3 separate regions of the Homo sapiens genome follow, and all the other regions are linked to region 1. The links are contacts of gene promoters, found by promoter capture Hi-C in blood cells and fetal thymus (Javierre and others, 2016). All regions are on one chromosome and are shown on one strand. Each heading gives the region's core, a stretch centred on a gene start or on the middle of the fragment in contact. The rest is flanking DNA. Distances are from core to core; before and after follow the strand shown. Region 1 holds the start of EFHC1 (EF-hand domain containing 1). Region 2 has its middle 17 kb from the start of LINC01564. Region 3 overlaps GCLC-AS1 (GCLC antisense RNA 1).

Region 1 (3,458 bases), core at 536-3,035:
AGTTTTGTAAAAAGCACCAAAGGCAAAAAAACTTCATTGAAGTTTTTAAAAAATGTATTAAACTGCTGCATTAAGGTAATGTACTTACAGAAAAAGAAAAAGAGGTTTAAAAAAGGACAAGAACAGGAAACAGATGTAGTAAGGGGAGAAGAGTTAGAAAGGAAACTCTCTGGGCAGGGTATGGTAAGCAGGCATCAATAACTGCCTCAGGTGCCACTTAATGCATTCATGTCCTGGGCCTCCTGAGCGTCACACAAATTAGTGAAACCCAACAGGGGGATTTGCTCTGACAAGCAGCAATAAAAGTAAAGCTGCTGTCTGTATTGGCAGTAAACTACCTGTGACACTGAGATATGCCTTCTGTGTCTGGCTTATTACTCTATCATGTTCCTAAACTGGCTTGTCACAAACGCCTGTTACAAAAATCAGATTCCTGGCCTCCATGTCAGACCTAATGAATCCAAATCTCTCGGCACGTGGGTTTTGATTACTTTTTATTTTTAAGCTCCTCAGCAATGATGGATAGCTTTCTCCCCCCCCCCCCAAAAAAAATGTTTCAGGAATAGGATTATGTTTCTTTTAAGAAAAAATAATTTAAGCAAGTTTTGTAAAAAGCATCAAAGGCTATACCTATGATGCTGACAATATTTCACCTCACTTATCTGCTTCTTTCCCAAGACTTAGTCTTTCTCTTTGAAGGAGCTGTGTTCCTCCTAGTGGTTCTGATCTTTTTCATTGCAGCTGCAGGTACAAACGAGGGATTGAGGTGACCACCCTTCAACCTGCAGCTCTTCAGTCAACAAAAATCAAGTACCTATCAGAGTGCACCCTGCCCTGCAGCACATATTCAAGGCTTTCCCTACAAAAACAAAGGTGTTTAACCGAAGGGATTGATGGTAGAATAAAGAGAGCTGGGCGCGGTGGCTCATGCCTGTAATCCCAGCACTTTGGGAGGCGAGGTGGGCGGATCGCTTGACCCCAGGAATTCGAGACCAGCTTGGGCAACATAGTGGGACACTATCTCTACGGAAGGAGGGAAGTAGGGAAGGAAGGAAGGAAGCAAGGAGGGAAGGAGGGACGGAGGGAAGGAGGGAAGGAAGGAAGGAAAAAGAAAAGAAAGGAAAGAAAGAAAGGAAAGAAAGAAAGAGAAAGATTGATTTTAAAAAAGAGTTAAAAGGGGAAAAATACAATGTGGCAGTGGGAGAATTAAGGATGAGATGATTGCATTAGTTCATTGACCATCCCTGAGCAACAGAAACACAATCATGGGTAATCCTCGGCCCCTGCCTACAAGAAGCATGGGTCTAGTTTAGTAGCACTGCCAACTGGACCGACCATTTACACTTCTGTGTGAAATGGGGCAGAGGGGGGAGAAAAGAGTGCCTGAGCTCACAGCGTTGGCGGGGCGCAGTGAGGTCCGCCAGGACTAGGTGGAAGGAGAGAAGGAACGTCCCTCTCTGCAACTCATCTAAGGGCCTGCTCGGACCCCGGATCTCACAGCGAGAACTACCGCCTCGCTACACCCGCCTTTCCCCGCGCCACCCAACAGCTCCCACGTCTCATCCTCCGGGAGCGGGGCGGGGCGAAGCGGAAGAGGAGGGGCCGACACAACCACGCCCACTAGCCGCGCTCCAAGGCCGCGGCCCACTTACCGCGAGAACGCGGAGTCCTGCGGATGGCGCACGCGCAAACCTCCTGTGATGCCTGCGCCTCCTGGCCCCGCCTTCCGCTCGTGGGAGTTCCGGATGTTTAGCGTTACCATGGATCCTGGAGGTGCCCGCGAACACTGCTTGTCGCCTGGGCAACCGGAGAGGACGAAGCAGGACCTAGGTGGCGGCGGTGGTACCGGCTGCAATGGTGTCCAATCCCGTGCATGGCTTGCCCTTTCTTCCGGGCACGTCCTTTAAGGACTCTACGGTGAGCAGTTATCTGCCAGACTCCCACCTGTCCCCACCTTCCAGCAGCCCAGGAGGTTTCCCCGCTCAGTGCACCTCCATTCCCCTCCACTCAAGTCTGTCTTCTCTCCAAACACGTCTTCTGTCCTGACCCTGTTCTTTATTCTGGGCCGAACTTCTGCCGTTCTTCCCTAGCCATCCTCATCCCCTCTCTCCGATCCTTTGCCCTCCGCCTCATCCCTCTCTAGTTTTTTCCCACTCCATCTTGGCAGTGTGTTGGCGCCTTCATTCTCATCCCGTTAGCCGCGTTCTTTCTTACGGCCCTGCTCCTCCAAGCCCCTGCCTCTTGTCCCTTTAGATCACTGTTTCCCCCACCCTACTCCCAACCTATCTCTGGGCCCTCTCCCTAGCTCGTTCTCTCACATCATAACCTGTCTCCGTCCATCGCCGCCCTTAAAACCCCCCGCCACTATGCACCTTCAACCTCATTCCCACAGGTCCGTCATTCCCGCCCCACCTCTTCCTCTTCTGAATCCTGTACCCGGTAGTATCTCCCACTCCCAGCTCCATTTCCTGTTTTGTATGTATATCGATTCCGCTCCTCTTCTTTCCGCCAGGTCTTTTTCCTTTCTTCTTTATGCTTGCATCCAACCCCATTCTTTTTTCTCCATCTTCTACATTTTCCACAATTTAGTCCCATCCTCTCCCCATTCCTTTCTTTCTCCGTTGCGGGTTTTCCCCAAAACTTGCTCACCTTCCTCCCAAAGCATCTTTCCCTGCTTTGTAAGAGATATTCCTTTCCAGTTCCCTCAAGAATTGATTAGTTGCTGTTTATTCTTCCCCGGCCCTGTTCTTTTTATTCTAACGTTTTTGTAAAAAGATTCCTGTTTAGATTTTGTTTTGCTCCTTCCCCAACCTTGTGTTTTTATTTGCATTTTCTAGACAAAATTTTTTAAAAAGTAGCAGCAGCTTGGATTCTTTTTTTTTTTTAAACTCTTGCCACAGTTTAGCTCTTAAAATTATTTGGTTTGTTTTAATTCTGACAGGGCTACTGAAATGTATGTGCTGAAAAATCAATAATGAGATTCAGTAGACTGATCATCATAGATGAGCTAACAGTAGTTTATGTTTATATAGTTTAATACTTTAAACTCTTGCCTTCCTCTCCAGCTTCACAAAGTTAAAATATTTTGTCAATTTATTTTCTTTGGAAGAATCAATTTAGAATGAAATCGAAAGTTTGGTGAGAGAATTTGTATTCTGAATCTCTGTAATTATCCCTGCATTAAGACACAACATCATAGATTTTTAGTTTCAGTGGACTTTTCAGTTTTATGTAATTTAGAAAATGTTGTAGGCACTTGCCTGCCCTATACAGGATGAGCTTAAGCTTTTGGTGTTGGTGAGTATAGACAGGGCTGAGTTGATACAGGGAATTACAGAGGTGTGGATGGAAGTGCAAAGCTCTAAAAACATATTGCTGTATTACAAGTAAGAAGAACTGTGCATTGGACATATTTCAGATTTTAAATACACTGGCCAAGTGTCAACCAATTTGCCCTA
Region 2 (3,458 bases), core at 644-3,143, 1.2 Mb after region 1:
TGGGTCTTTATTATAAAAACAGTCACAGTCCAGGCATGGTGGCATGTACCTATAGTCCCAACTACTTGGGAGGTTCAGTTGAGCCTGGAGGTTGAGGACACAGTCAGCAGAGGATAGCACTACTGCACTTGAGCCTGGGTGACAGAGTGAGACCCTGTCACAAACAAACAAAACAAACAAAAAACAGTCATAGCAGCAGATACTAGAATCTCTGGGAAGTCTAAAAAGAGTAGAGTGCTCTCTCTAGCATTCAGACACTAGCAGAGCACGGCACAGATACTCAGGACTGCTGATTTTTGAGGCAGTCAGCAAGCTCTCCACGGTTTTAATGAGTACTGCAGCTCTGCCCCTGGTTGCCTGTATTCTGTGAGCCACAGCCAACCACACTGAACCTTGCTGAGTGTTCTGTCTTTGACCCAAACATGTGACTAAGCAAAAGGCATCAGTGGGGCTGGGAGAGGGGGAGGCCAGGCTTTATAAAGTAGTGCTCTGTAACTTTGCTCTACCCACTGCACAAATGGAAAGAGATAATGTTTGTACAATGCATTAGGGAAAAATGGAAAAGGCCGGCCACAGCCAGAGGAACCAGCCTGTGAGCTCTGGCCACTCTAGGCCCTATTTGGCCCTACATTAAACCTGGGAGACATCAAAGCAGTGCTGTGTAATACCTGTTCTCTGCATAGCGCATGTCAGGGAGTGACAGTGGCACATGCTGCAGCGGAGGACCCATGTGCCTAAAGCCCTGGGCAAGGTCATTCTTCCCTTGATTTAAAGTTTTCTTCTGCAGCCTGGAACCCTGATCTTCCTGCAGAGGTCACAGGGCTCTCCTTCCCCTCAAGACTCCCTCTTTCTTTTGTATTTGGTCAGTGCCGGCAGGCAGGGGCAGAGGACTGGATGGCTTCATCAAAGGCACTAATTTATCAAGTGGGATTTTAATTTAAGAATTCAGGGGGAATGATGGAAATTGGCAATGCCTTAACATTTCATGGATTTTCGGTGGAGCTAGTTTGTCCCTGTTCAAAACAAGCAGTCCCACATGGGGAGGCTCCCCTCCAATAGTAACTCTTTCCGTTTGTCCATTTGTGGCCCTGCCATCTCCAGCAGGCTCCCAAAGCTGTCCCAGGATCAGTCTCCATTACACCTCACCATCTTCAGAAATGTGGCTCTGTGGAGTGCCTCCAAAGCAGGAGCCGGTCCTTCTTTCAGCTGAATTTGCCACCCCTTATTTCTTTATGCAATATCTCACTCTCCTTGATATGGCTTGGTTATGTCCTCACCCAAATCTCATCTTGAATTGTAGTTCCCATAATCCCCGGGGGAAGGATCCGGTGGGAGGTAGTTGAATGATGGGGGCAGTTCTGGTGATAGTGAGTGAGTTCTCACGAGATCTGATGGTTTTATAAGGGGCTTTTCCCCCTTTTGCTCAGCACTTCTTGTTGCTGCCGCCATGTGAAGAAGGATGTACTTGCTTCCCCTTCAGCCATGGTTGTAAGTTTCCTGAGGCCTCCCCAGCCATGCTGAACTGTGTGAGTCAATTAAACCTCTTTCCTTTATAAACTACTCAGTCCCAGTTATGTCTTTATTAGCAGCATGAGAATGGACTACTGCGCTCCAAGTGTCTCTGGAAGACTCAGGCCCAGAGATTCACTGTCCATCTCCAAGGACTCTGCATTGAGTGACTTGTCCTCAGTATTTTTACCCATGAGGGAAATGAAACACCTTCAATGGAGACTGGTCTGGGGTTCCGAAGGGCACCAGGGATTGGGCTGCAAGGGTTCTGCTTCCAGGAGTCCCTGTTTATCTCTCATTTTTGAGTCAGAAAAAGGCCCCTGGGTATCTGTGTGTAGGCTCTACCTTCTCAGGTTTCCCCGTGTCTCTGAAAACATGGCTGCCCATGAGAAGTATTTAAAGAAATGAACTTTACCTATTAACTTATTTAGCTCTCATATGAGACAAGGTGATGTAATCATAATGGCTCTTAATTTCAGAATGCAAGCATAAGACCATATATTTTACACACACACACACACACGCAGAATATATGTATATATGCACACACTCACACTTAAATGATGTGTGTGTGTGTGTGTACTTAGTAAGCACTGAATAAATGCTTACTAGCTAAATGATGAAGCTAGTCCTAACCTGTTTTTGAAGAATTGGCAATTATAGAGAAGATGCATGCAATTTAAAAAATTTTAATGGGGACATAGCTATAGAGATATCAATCTTTTGAGTTTTTTTTTTTTGAGAAATGGAAAGTGTTGGTTGCATAACTCCTTCCACCTGTAATGTGTCTTAACAATTTAATTTTTGGCTTGCAGCAAGTTTGGAAAAGTCCTAGTTATCATGGTTGTGTACTTTAATGTGCTTCCCTCTAGTGATTACTGGGGTAAGGGAAAGTGTTTTGCATGCAGTAGATGCTTAATAAGTATTTGCTGATTAAATAAATGAGTAATATTGGAATAGAGATCAGCAAGCAGTAGGTCATGATGGTTTTATTGTTTCATTCACTCATTCACTTATTTACTTCACACACAAAAAATTGATCTCCTGCTATACACCAGGCATGACTCTAGACACCGGAGGTACATCTGTGAACGAGACAAAATTTTCACCTTTAAGGATGATATTCTAAAAGAGATGGCAGAACATAAATCAACAGGAAAATATCCAGAGATGGTAAGCTATGATGGCACGTAAGCATGGCGAGATTTGAACAAGGGAGGAAAGGCCACTGGGCTGGAGTTGTTGAAAGTTACAGCCTAGGCCAGAAGCACAGTGCTGAAGCCTGAAGAGGGCAGAAAAAAATATCCCAACCACTTGCTTCTGCCCTCTGACCTCCTTCTGATACCTCCCGTTGGATGAATAAAATGTTCAGCCAAAGAGCCTGAGTCTGGATGATGTAGTCCCTAGGGGACGGAGCACAGAGCAGGGCAGAGAAAGACAGAATATGATCAGGGGCATGAGGCTGGGAAATAATTATGTCTAATGAACATTTGTTAAACAACAAAGGATTCTTTTGGCATACAGAATTTTCTTTGCTACTTATATGCAGAATTGTAATGAAATAAAGCATTTTTCAGTTTGGAACTCTGCAAAAAATGGAAACGTTTCATTAATATTGCAGAATAAAACTTGAGAGACAGATTACCACCATTTAGCTTCCTTCCCCCTCTTCCTTTCAGGAATACTCTTCTGCTAATGGGGATTAAGAACAGATGCGTGTATGTCCTCTTTTAGACTCTACATGTGTTCTCTTCTCCCCAAATCGTCATGTATTGGGAACCTGCTAGTATGGCTAGAGTGGCAGGAATTAAGTCACAGATGTATCATTTTCACTCAACATTCTTTTAGAAGAGGTTAGATCAAGAAGAATTAAGACGATTCCAGAAAGAGAAGAACAAGGAGACCCAGGGAGGGAGGGGTGAGGAGGGCAATTCTTAACATTAAATGGG
Region 3 (3,458 bases), core at 884-3,383, 1.1 Mb after region 1:
TCATGAACATTCAGGGTTCTTGAGGGCCTGAACTGCTTGTTTTGGTAGCCTTGCATTTTCAGGGCAACAATCCCTGGCATCGAGTGGACCCTCAAGAAATATTTGTTAGCTGCCAGATGCAACTTTCCGCTGTATTGTCAACACTTTTTCAAAACACGTCACTGAGGATTTCAGTAACTTCCCAGCAGCTACAAGGAATCTTGGGAACCTTTTCTCTAGGCAGAGCAGGCTATTTAATACCCCATTTGTAATAGGGTGATTTAAAGATACTTTGAAAGCCAATCTAAGAAAAGACATTTCTCCGATGGTGCCTGAAGTTCGATGCATAGAGGTTTTTCTTTCTGTTACCCTCACTAAGTTCTTTGAAAATGCCTACAGAAGGGGTGTTCATATCAGGCCCTTGTGCTTCACGAGAATAAGTTGATCGGGTAAAAATTTTCTCCATAAGAGAGACCACTATTGGGAGGGGGCAGCTGCCCAGTTAGGAGGGTTAGACTTGTCCTGCACCAATATTGTCAAGCAAGTGGGCTCAAGGGTCCCTCTGGACTCTCCTACTTAACCTTCACTATTGGCTTAAATATAGGAGTGACCATCCCCTCTCCAGAAACTGGCCTCAGTCCTGTAGCTTATTTCTTGGGATCAGTGACCCACCTCCACTTTCCACCACCTCCAGAGGCTCGAGAGAACCTGTCCCTGTCTAAACAGCCATTATTAAATGTGACTGTATTTTTTTCTCTATAGGAATGATGTATTTTCTATTTAAAAAAAAAAAAAAAAAACTCCCACAATCTTTGTGTGACTTGCATTTGAGAGCGGCCAAAGGACCTACTTGCAAAGCAGTGCAGAGGCTGACATTTACTGATAATCTGCCATGCACGAGGCACCCGGCCAGAGGGACGCTTCCTGTTCAAAATGACTGTTAGGCAGATGCTATCATTTCCATGTTACTGAGAACAAAGTTGAATCTCTGAGAGAGAAAAAAAGGAACATTCACAGGGTCACAAAGGTGGGTTGAATTCCAGAGACCCTGTTCTCTCTACAGCAAGGAAAATTACCCATACCCAGGAGAGCAGGGAAATGTCATAAATTCTTTGTATGCCCTCACTGCACTTTGCACAGGGCTTGGAGTCTTTGATGGAGAATGCATGTAACATAACCCACTGAAATTAAGCTTAAACAAAAATGATACTTTGCTGGGAGGGATCCTGGTCACCCCCTAAAATCCGAGGAAAGTTGAACAACCAGGCCTCAGTACCAAGAGTTCTTGGGTTTTATATCTGTCTAATGCTACACCCGCAACTGGACTAAATAACCTGCATCTCTGTCTCTTAGTCAGAGTTCTCAAGAGAGAGACCCTAATTGGCTCCTGGTCAGCCAATGAACTTCCTCCTCCTGAGTCAGGTGTTCACTTCTAGTCCAATCAGCTATGACCAAGAGTCAAGCAAAAGCAAAACTTCCGGGGGCTAATTCTGAAGTCTGCCCAATGGTGTCTACTGTACCCAGATATAATTCAATACATGTTTATTGTCTGGTGTTTTTTGTGTTCATTCGTTGCAACCAAGTTCTTTAAGAACCTTGGATACATCGTCCTTCATTTAATCATCAGGCGGGGGTTGATAGGCCATAGTGATCAAGAAAAATATGTGAAATTTCTATATGCCAGTTATCGCTGTGTTAAAAACCTTCAGAGCAAATTAAGAAAGGAGAAATAAACTATTTGTTCTCAAAAGCTTGGTTTCAAGGGGACCGAGGAAATGGGAAAAGCATCTGTGGACAAGGCTATTGTGCTTGCTGCTGGAAGACTACCAAGGCCAGTTACTAAACGGGTGGGCAGCAACAAGTAGTTGCTTTGTTTTTTTTTCCCCCATAGGAAGTTGTTGTCTCTGTTTTGCAAGTTTGTCAAATTTCTTTTGTTTCTGGGGTCAATAACCTAGATACTTGAGACTCTTTTTTTCCCCTTCCGAGGGTCCTAATTTTGCATTTTACGTAACACCAATCTTGACCAAAAGCTGATTTATTAAGGAGGTTTCTTCTGGGTTAGTTGTTGGTGCTGGAGGCTGCGTGTACATGACTTAGTCTTCTACTGCCACCATGAGGGAGATGCTGGAATTGCAAGGCTCTTTTAGTTATCAAATGTAAATTTTCATAAATGAAAGTGAGCACGTTTAAAATTATCTCTATCTATTTATCTATCTATCTGTCTGTCTATCATGTTCATATATATATAAAATGGAACAATCCACCTCCTAAAACATATCCTCTGAAAGGCTTAAAGAGATATATAGTATTGCCAAGTGTGTCTGAGTTAGGTAGGCGAGGGTTTGAGACCTGCCTCTGCCTACCACTACAACCGCCCTTACACTAGACATTTAAGTCTTCTAAGCCACAGGTGTAAAAATGGTCTGATAGTACCCATTTCACAGGGCTTGGTATTGAAAAAATGACATAGCCTGTGTCAGTCTCTAGCATTTGGTAAGTACTCAATAAATGATTACCATTGCTATCACCTGAAATTGACCACGGCTGAAAGTATTAGAAAAGCTTTCTGCAGGGAGAAAGAGGGGTGAGGGTGGAGGGTACCAGTAACCCCGTGAAAACAAACACCAGTGCACAACTGGAGTGGATGCTCAATAAACATATGAAAGGTTCAGGGGAAAGGGGTAAAGTCACCAGGGATGGCTCTAACAGCCAAAAGAGGGATGGAAAACACTCTTTTAAGCTGACCATTTTAGAGTCAAAGAACCAAAAATATAGAATGTTCGTGTGGTAAGGATTCTAGATATGTACTCCAGCTTTTTTTTTTTTTCAAGTGGGGCAACCGAGTGATTGAATCACTCTTCAAGTTAAAATGTTAATCAGCAGTAAAGTGGGACTAGAACCCAAGACTTTTGTTTTCTTTTCTTTTCTTTTTTTTTTTTTTTTGAGACAGGATCTAACTCTATTGCCCGGGCTGGAGTGCGATGGCACATTTGTAGCTCACTGTAACCTTGAAGCCCTGGGTTCAAACAATCCTTCCGCCTCAGCCTCCTGAGTAGCTGGGACTACACTCACACACCACTGTGCCCAGCTAATTTTTATTTTTTTGGGCAGAGACAGGAATCTCACTATATTGCCCAAGCTGGTCTGAAACTTCTGGCTTCAAGTGATCCTCCCGCCTTGGTCTCCTAAGGTGCTGGGATTACAGGCATGAGCCACTGTGCCCACCCCCTCAAGACTTTTGACAAATAATCCAGAGCTCTTTATATATAAGCACCAAAATATCAGTCAAGATTAGCCAAATCAGGATTGTCTTGGATTGAAAAAAAAAATGGGCAAGTTGCTTAACCTGATTATGCTTTAGTTTCATTACTGGCAAAATGGCAATCATAATATCCTACTGCAGGGGTTCTAGTAAAGACTGAGATGCCACATGGAAAGCATTTAGATTTGTGCAATAAATGTCCACTGGTATGATTATA

The links. The method cuts DNA at HindIII sites, captures the fragments that hold promoters and counts their contacts. A CHiCAGO score of 5 or more calls a contact.
Region 2: a fragment that was not itself captured here is called in contact with the fragment with the promoter of EFHC1 in region 1 in 1 of 17 cell types (non-activated CD4 T cells); the score reaches 7.0 in non-activated CD4 T cells.
Region 3: a contact is called between a fragment that was not itself captured here and the fragment with the promoter of EFHC1 in region 1, in 2 of 17 cell types (fetal thymus and non-activated CD4 T cells). The highest score is 5.9, in fetal thymus.

Annotation. Positions count from the first base shown.
Region 1 is chr6:52,418,557-52,422,014 of GRCh38, forward strand. It overlaps EFHC1 (EF-hand domain containing 1), which reads left to right and starts at 1,786. Exons shown (of 11, transcript NM_018100.4): 1 at 1,786-1,917. The coding sequence starts at 1,855. LOC124901331 (a long non-coding RNA gene) reads right to left here and starts at 2,425. Exons shown (of 2, transcript XR_007059611.1): 1 at 1,653-2,425. RefSeq lists an enhancer at 1,755-2,346. The HindIII fragment of the contact is 6,560 bases long and covers 1-3,283 here.
Region 2 is chr6:53,643,198-53,646,655 of GRCh38, forward strand. No RefSeq gene overlaps it. Among named protein-coding and RNA genes, the nearest start is that of LINC01564, 17 kb to the left of the region's middle. RefSeq lists an enhancer at 274-568. The HindIII fragment of the contact is 4,292 bases long and covers 1-3,458 here.
Region 3 is chr6:53,482,743-53,486,200 of GRCh38, forward strand. The region is part of intron 3 of GCLC-AS1 (GCLC antisense RNA 1); the gene reads left to right. Among named protein-coding and RNA genes, the nearest start is that of GCLC-AS1, 53 kb to the left of the region's middle. The HindIII fragment of the contact is 811 bases long and covers 1,729-2,539 here.